3 separate regions of the Homo sapiens genome follow, and regions 1 and 3 are each linked to region 2. The links are contacts of gene promoters, found by promoter capture Hi-C in blood cells and fetal thymus (Javierre and others, 2016). All regions are on one chromosome and are shown on one strand. Each heading gives the region's core, a stretch centred on a gene start or on the middle of the fragment in contact. The rest is flanking DNA. Distances are from core to core; before and after follow the strand shown. Region 1 has its middle 7.0 kb from the start of ZNF516-DT. Region 2 holds the start of CNDP2 (carnosine dipeptidase 2). Region 3 overlaps ZNF236-DT (ZNF236 divergent transcript).

Evidence for each region. Contacts are between HindIII fragments. The CHiCAGO score rates a contact against its expected background, and 5 or more counts as called.
Region 1: a contact is called between a fragment that was not itself captured here and the fragment with the promoter of CNDP2 in region 2, in 1 of 17 cell types (M0 macrophages). The highest score is 6.0, in M0 macrophages.
Region 3: a contact is called between a fragment that was not itself captured here and the fragment with the promoter of CNDP2 in region 2, in 1 of 17 cell types (activated CD4 T cells). The highest score is 5.8, in activated CD4 T cells.

What each region holds. Positions count from the first base shown.
Region 1 is chr18:76,500,987-76,503,686 of GRCh38, reverse strand. No RefSeq gene overlaps it. Among named protein-coding and RNA genes, the nearest start is that of ZNF516-DT, 7.0 kb to the right of the region's middle. The HindIII fragment of the contact is 1,120 bases long and covers 748-1,867 here.
Region 2 is chr18:74,494,983-74,497,741 of GRCh38, reverse strand. It overlaps CNDP2 (carnosine dipeptidase 2), which reads right to left and starts at 1,379. Exons shown (of 12, transcript NM_018235.3): 1 at 1,311-1,379. RefSeq lists enhancers at 271-370, 754-1,266, 1,824-2,093 and silencers at 864-913, 1,044-1,553. The HindIII fragment of the contact is 6,969 bases long and covers 1-2,759 here.
Region 3 is chr18:76,802,042-76,804,741 of GRCh38, reverse strand. All of the region lies in intron 2 of ZNF236-DT (ZNF236 divergent transcript), which reads left to right. Among named protein-coding and RNA genes, the nearest start is that of ZNF236-DT, 19 kb to the left of the region's middle. RefSeq lists a silencer at 2,417-2,466. The HindIII fragment of the contact is 441 bases long and covers 1,056-1,496 here.

The DNA of each region.
Region 1 (2,700 bases), core at 58-2,557, 2.0 Mb before region 2:
GCATGACTGGGTCTTGAGTGAAAACAGTTTGTAAACATTCACACTTTGAGGTGTGAATCTCAGATTCTGCTAGGCATGGCCATACCAAGGACACTCTGAAAACAAACACAATTTAAAAATCCGCGGGAGAAAGGAATGGTTCTAGAAATGACTTCCAGTTCAAGAGTATTAGCACAATTAGAGATAACTTTTTATGCCTTCAGATATTTTAAAACATCTTAAATTAACATATAGTTTTATAATATTGATGATATCAACTGCTATTTGAGGAGGGGGCCTGTGCTATTAAGAAAATAACTTACATTTGCTCATACTAGTATAGTACGAAAACAGTTTTAAGTGATTTTCACATTTAAATTTTTCTCATTAAAAATAACTGTGTGATTCCCACTTTGCAGATAAAGTAATTGCTATAAATTCTCATTCAATTATGGGTTGATAGTTTTTGTCTCCAAATCCTTATGCGGCACACTGTCAGAATTTATTTGGTGACAGTGTCATTGTGAACAGAGTCCGTTACACTCTCATTTCACAGACAGCACAAATCTTGTAAACATAGTGCTTTTGTCTTTGCTTTGGGTACTAGGAAGCTCAGGGGAACATTCTGCTGCTTCTGACAGTTCAAAGGATGACTAGACATGTATCCACGTGTGCTGGTGTTAAGACTGGTTGAGCTGAAATTGATCCTGATTTTTCTGTTTTTCCACTCTTATTATTCCTGACCTCATTCTTCCCACTGCTGAAGCTTTTCTTTGTATTTTATATATTTTTTAAAGCCAGCTCAACTCCTTTGAGAAACCAAATGAAACATTTGCATGGAGATTCTGTCTCCACCAGCTAGTTAGTAGGTATTCTTGCACAAATATGTAGCACATATTAGGTATGTGGAAGACTAACAACACTTTGTGATAAGCGGCAAATGCCAAAGTGCATGATGACGTAAACAGAACCAGAAGCTGCATAGCTTACACAAGCGCAAATGACCAATAAGCAGAACGAGAACTGGACATGAGAGTGTGTGACAAGTTCCTAAACATATTGTGAGAAGACACATATTTGGCCCTGTCCGTCTATAAAATTATCTTTAAAATAGCCAGGGCTGTCGTGTTTCAGCTGCGTACAGCTCAATGTAGGTGGATGTATGGGTTGGCGTCATGGTCGAGGCTATTTCTAAATCCATGGCTGACATTCGCCAACTCTGAGAGACGGGCGGGACTGTGAACTCTGGGTCTCTCCTTCAGCATCTGCCAAATGGGACAATAGTGGCACCTACCTCATGGGTTATTGTGATATATTAAGTGACATAAAATGTAAGCTCTTAGGAAGATTCCCTACATAATAAGCATGTAATACATACTGCTTTTAAAATGAGCACTTGATCTAGTGCCTGCCTTACAGAGTAAATGTGGAATAAATAAGTAAATGCACAGATATGAAAAATTAAGATTTAGAAGTTTCTTAAACTTTTGTCATTTTTTAAATGATGACTCCTTGCCTGAAATTTTTTTTAGATTTTCAGTGTATAAAATGTTTTAGCCATCTCGTATCACTTCCCCACATTTTCCTTTTGCCATTTACCATAAGGCTGCCATGAAAAACAAAAGTGCACAAAAGTGTGAGAATTTATACAATTTACTCACTCAATTAGCGTGATCAAACTATTTGTCTCTTTACAAAAATTTCATTTTGATTCCCCAAGTTTAACTTAATGCCATTGGTTTAACATCTGTTTGGAGCACACCAAAACACCTCTGTCTATTCTAAAATGGAATGCTTCAGTCATGCCCAGAGATCCACACCTGTCCTAGTTCAGTCCCCAGAAAGATAAATTCTCTTAATGAAGGTTTTTCCTTGGGGCCAGGAAGCTTGGGGGTGCCTTAGTGCTCGGCCACGTTCATGAACCCACCTCAAGTGCCTGACGTGTCAACCACTCTGTTTCTTTATATTGACTGCAAGTTTAGTTTTCTGATTTTTAGTATGCCTGGGCGTTACATCTTTTCTCCTTCTTTTTTTAAAATTTTTTTAATTTTTTTATTTTTTAGATAGAGTCTCGCTCTGTCTCCCAGGCTGGAGTGCAGTGGCGCGATCTTGGCTCACTGCAACCTCCCGCTCCGTGGTTCAAGCAATTCTCCTGCCTCAGCCTTCCAAGCAGCTGGGACTACAGGTGCCCGCTACCACGCCTGGCTAATTTTTGTATTTTTAGTAGAGACGGGGTTTCACAGTGTTGGCCAGGATGGTCTCGAACTCCTGACCTTAGGTGATCCACCCACCTCGGCCTCCCAAAGTGCTGGGATTACGGGCGTGAGCCACTGTGCCCGCCCCCCACTTTCTTTCTTTTTCTTAAAGTCATCTGCTTGTAAGTCGTAAATAAGCTCTGAAAATACTAACCAGAAAGAATTTAACACCAATTTGGCCATAGGGTGGCTTCATGTTGTTACGGTTTCCATTTGGGAAGGAGGTAAGTCTTTCTGTCATATTTCTTTTGAAGCTTACAAGGTGAGAAAAGACAAAGACAGCCAAATAAGGAAATCAATCATTTTAGGTAACAGAAGAAAAATTCTTGAGAATTGTTTTTGGTGAAATTACAGTCACTCTGTTTTTATTATTTATTTATGTATTTATTTATTTTTAGAGATGGAGTCTCGCTCTGTCGCCCAGGCTGGAGTGCGGTGGCGCGATCTCGGCTCACTGCAAGCTCCG
Region 2 (2,759 bases), core at 130-2,629:
GTGATTTTGGCTCACTGCAACCTCTGTCTCCCAGGCTCAAATGATCCTCCTGCCTCAGCTTCCCAAGTAGCTGGGACTGCAGGTGCGCACCACCACACCCAGCTAATTTTTGTATTTTTTGTAGAGACGGGGTTTGCTCGTGTTACTCAGGCTGGTCTCGAACTCCTGGACTCAAGCGATCTGTCCGCCTTGGTCTCCCAAAGTGCCGAGGTTACACACATGAGCCACCATGCCTGGCAAGGGAGTAACATGATTTAAATGTTGAGACTAGTGGAGGGCAGGAGAAATTGCTGTGGCACCTGGAACCGTCAGTAGTACACACAAATGAGTCTTCTAGTTCTGAGAATCTCAGTCCCTGTCCCTTGATAATTGAAGGCATATATAACACAAATAACTGAATCACACCTTCATGTCTGATTAAGAACCAATAAAAGAATCTCCAATCTGCCCAAGCTAGAACTTGATCCCTAAGCATAATGTGGACTTCTCTTCCTCCACTCCTGCCTGCAAACATTAGGGACAAGGAAGGTATTGGTAGCAGGCCCCGGGTTCTCCGCCTCTTCCTGCAGTCTATGCTTGGATGATCTACGGAATCTGACCTTGGCAGGCGGTGGGGAGTTTGGTTTGGTGGCCCTGTCTGTGAGGACCAAATATTGTCTCTATTTCACAGATGAGGAAACTGAAGCCAATTGAATAAGACACCTGCCCCAGACCATCAAGCTGGCATGGGAATTTTGTCTCCCCTCAGACGCTTCCTCCTATAGCCTTAAACGCTGCCTCAAATGCTGGCGGGAGCTAGGGACGCTGTCCAGGGCCCTTTGAACCTGGGAGGCTTCTGTCCCGCCACACTCCCCACCCCAGGTCTCCGGGAAAGGGATCCGTTGGAGAAAGGCTGGAGTTCTCAGCAGGCCCCTGGGGAGGGGTGTGGCCTGACCAGCGCTCGGCTCCCCGCAACCCCATCTCCAACCCGGGTCGTTCCACTCGACTCCACCAGGGAGGGCCACGCAGGCTCAGGCCAAGTGCGCCGCCCAGCTTGTCCCTGCGTACCGGGGACGCGCTCGGCGCTGCTGGGACACGAGTGGCCCGGAGGTGCGAGAGGCCCCGGGGCCATGGCCGTCACGGGCCTCCGCCCCCGACCGCGCGCTCGGGAACAGCCCGGACACCATTGTTCCCGCCTGGCTGCGGCCGGGCGCCCCACGCTCCCCCACGAATGAGGCGTGACTCTCGCCGCTGACCCGGGTCCTCCCCGCCCAGCCCGTTCCCAGCTCAGGGCGCCCACCCGGGAAGGAAGGTCCATCAGGAAGACCCACCTGGGAAGGAAGGCCCACTAGGCAAGGCCCTGTTACCAGCAGCAAGCGCGGCGCCGGTTCCGTACCACGTGTCCCGGCCACGACCCCCGGCGCTGGCCCGCCCCGCGGTCGCCCTGGCCACCAACCCCGCCTTGTCCGGAGGGCAGGCATCGCCACGCCCCCGCCACGCCCACCAATCCAGCCACAGGCAGAGGGGTGGTGTCACTCTCTCCCCGCCCCATTTCCGCCCTGAGCCAGGTGCGGAAGGTGACGTCACCTCTCCCAGCTCCATTTCCGTCCCGCCCACCAATCCCGGCCTGGTCCACAAGGCTTTCGCCTCGTCGCCCCTCCCCGACGGTAGACGGGGATGTGGGCGTGGCGAGGGGGCGGAGATTTCGTGGGTTGGGATTCAGGGGAGGCAGGGCACACGGGAGCGCGTGTCCGGAGCTGTGGGCTTGTGCTGTGCTTCCCGGTTGCTCTTGGGTGGGCGGGGGGCCTGGTGCTTCAACGGTGGGGTCCGAGAAGTCGCCTGCAGTGCGGCAATGGAGTCCAAAACTAGGGGGCCCTGACTCCACCCTCTGATCTCCCAGGCTCCGGAGGTCCCACGACGCTCCCATTCCCTTGCGCATCCAGCACTGCACTTTCCGTTGCGTTTCAGTCCCGGCGGAGTCGGGGCACGGACTCCTGCGGGTCACACAAGCTCCAATGAGAGGTCGGTCTGAACTGGATTAGGAAAGCGTTCGCCAGCATCGTTACCAGTAGTGGAAATATTTTAGTATTTGTGTCCCATGACCCTAGGAACTGATGAAGGAAGCAGAGCCAGCACCGTGTTTGAGCGTCTGCGACAGCGCTTTCCTTTTTAATCTTAACAACAATTCTTGGGGGTAAAATTGTTATTCCCTAGTCTGCTCACTTTTCCAATAGAGTGTTCTCAAAAGACTTTCTTTAAACTTGTACCACTACCACATTCTTTAAGGAGTGATGGCTCGGGAGTTATTATTTTTTAAAAATGAATTTAATAGTTGTAAGAGATGTATACGTTCCCACATAAAGTAAAATGTTAAAATTGTCTCCTCCCTTAAAATTTACATGGTTTGTTTCCTCTTTTTATATTTATTTATTTATTTATTTATTTATTTATTTAGAGACAGAGTCTTGCTCTGTTGCCATGCTGGAATGCAGTAGCCCAGTCTCAGCTCACTGCAAGCTCCGCCTCCCAGGTTCAAGCCATTCTGCCTCAGCCTCCCGAGTAGCTGGGACTGCAGGTGCGCACCACCGCACCCAGCTAATTTTTGTATTTTTAGTAGAGACAGGGTTTCACCATATTGGTCAAGATGGTCTCGATTTCTTGACCTACTGATCCACCCGCCTCAGCCTCCTAAAGTGCTGGGATTACAGGCGTGAGCCACCCCGTCCCCCCCATCCCTGCCTCCTCTTTTATTTTTTATTTCTATTCCACATCCCTCATAG
Region 3 (2,700 bases), core at 27-2,526, 2.3 Mb before region 2:
TGTGTTGGTCAGGCTGGTCTTGAACTCCCAACCTCAGGTGATCCGCCCGCCTTGGCCTCCCAAAGTGCTGGGATTATAGGCGTCAGCCACCAGGCACAGCCTACAGATTTGGTTTTCAATATCACTTGACATGCACAAAGTACGGGTGAACAAGCACTTTTATTCTTTTTTCTTTTTTTCTTTTTTTTTTTTTTCTTTTTGAGATGGAGTCTCGCTCTGTTGCCCAGGCTAGAGTGCAGTGGCGCAATCTTGGCTCACTGCAACCTCTGCCTCCCAGGCTCAAGAGATTCTCCCACCTCAGCCTCCCGAGCAGCTGGGATTAGGACCACCACGCCTGGCTAACTTTTGTATTTTTAGTAGAGACAGGGTTTCACCATGTTGGCCAGGCTGGTCTCAAACTCCTGACCTCAGGTGATCCTCCCGCCTCGGCCTCCCCTCAGCTGGGATTACAGGCGTGAGCCACCGTGCCTGGCCACAAGCACCTTTTTTCTTTATCTCCTATGTTTGAAATTAAAATGAAAAAAATGTATAAACCTTATTTAATTAACAAGTGATGAGTCATTTTTAGTAAATGGACCTAAATACCTTAAGAAAGCCATCAAGTGTCAAATAGAGAGATGTAAGCTACCATGGAGAGCCTTTCGGGACGTATGGAAGGAACCAGTTTGCAATGACAACATGCTGTGGGTGGTGCCTACCTACACTGAAAGATTCGGATGGGTTTTTCAGAGTGCCCTCTTCACTGTCTTCCTTCACCCAGCCCGCCTCCTCTTCCAGGACTCCGACCCACTTTCCTCCTGCGCCCTCTAGTGTCTGTCTGCTTTTCCGTTCCCCCCATTTCTACCTTAGGATTTTTCTGTGCCTTTCATTCATCCTCCGTCTGCGTCTCCCGTGGTACTGACTTCAAAACCCCTGACTGTACCGAAACTCGGTGTGAACGAGGACTGCAGTGCTGCTGGGGATGCATTCTCCATTTGTACTTGAAGAGTTACGTCAAAACCTAAACTGTAGGCCTGACAGATAATGATAATTTGTCTATGGCAAAAACATAAGCTTAACTGCCTATCCTAATATAACAGGAAGCTAAACTATTTATACTGAACTGAATTCTCCTACATTTACAACTCATAAACCTGCAGCTTCCTGGACAGGCAGCAGACACTCCCAAACTCCGCTGTGTCCTAGTATATAATACTTTCGGCCAACCTACATGTGTAACTTACATCATTTTCAGAATATGAATGCTTCAAGTGGCATATTAGACATTAATAATTTAAGCAATGAAATTAACTGATACAGAATATATAGGTAAATAATAAAAGAAGTAATTAAAAATCTTTGTTTCATCAGTTCATATTAGCTATATATGTTCTCAAGTCTCAAAGAAAAGGTATTATTTCAAAGCAACTTAAAAAATATTTAAAAATTAGCACCCTATAGTTCTCATTTAATAAGTTAAATGGGTAATTAATTGGCATTTTATTTCAATAGAAGCTTATTTCAAAAAGCTTTCTACAGAGTTATTTTGTGTAAAATGGTAATTATGCCCACAATTTTCTAAATGAAGCTTGCAGAAAGGGCTCATTTTTGCCATAAACATAATTTTCATTGATGTTTCCCTTAAAGACAAATGTTTCCTTCACTGAAATAGACTTTTGGAAATTGTTTAATTATTTTTACCTTGGCAATTATGTCACCTTCCTTGAATATCCTCATTAATTACATTGCCACTGGTACCTCTGAAGTATTTGGTGTTTTCTTAAGTTCTTTAAGCTCTTTATTTTATTTTATTTTATTTATTTATTTTTTGAGACAGTCTCGCTCTGTCGCTCAGGCTGGAATGCAGCGGCCTGATCCCGGCTCCCTGCAACCTCTGCCTCCCGGGTTCATGTAATTCTCCTGCCTCAGCCTCCGGAGTAGCTGGGATTACAGGCTCGCACCACCAAGCCCGGCTAATTTTGGTATTTTTAGTAGAGACAGGTTTTGCCATGTTGCCCGGGCTGGTCTCAAACTCCTGACTGCAAGTGACCCGCCTGCCTGGGCCTAAGTTCTTTAAGATCTTAATGTAGAGTCTGAAAAGAGGGTTTCAGTCTGGGATTAAGTGCCTTTTTTTTTTTTTTTTTTTTTTTTTGCGACGGAGTCTCCTGCCTCAGCCTCCCTAGTAGCTGGGACTACAGGCGCGCACCACCATGCCCAGCTAAGTTTTTGTATTTTTAGTAGGGATAGGATTTCGCCATGTTGGCCAGGATGTTCTCAAACTCCCAACCTCAGGTGATCCGCCCACCTCGGCCTCCTGAAGTGCTGGGATAACACGTGTGAGCCACCGCTCCCGGCCAAGTGCCAATTACTTAATATTCCTAACTTTTTAACATATCCTAAAATACAACTCCACACCCAAGTTCAGGCGCTCGCGGATGGTCTTTTGTTGGCCGCACTCCTCCCTCCGGCTCTGCTCCAGCCCAGCCCCAGCCTCCTACCCTGGGGGCACCGCTGTCCCGCGGCCGAAGAAGCTGCGCCGCACCGGCCTCTGCCGCCACCTGGCGCCCGGCCGGGGCACGACGCACTGGACACCTTCCTAATAATATGAGCCGCACGCTCCCGTGGGGCACCCCTGACCCTCGCGGCCGCGCGTCTCAGCGCCCCTTCCGTGGGCTGCGGGTCTCACCCCCCAATCCCACTCCCACGTGGGCCCAGGTTCCT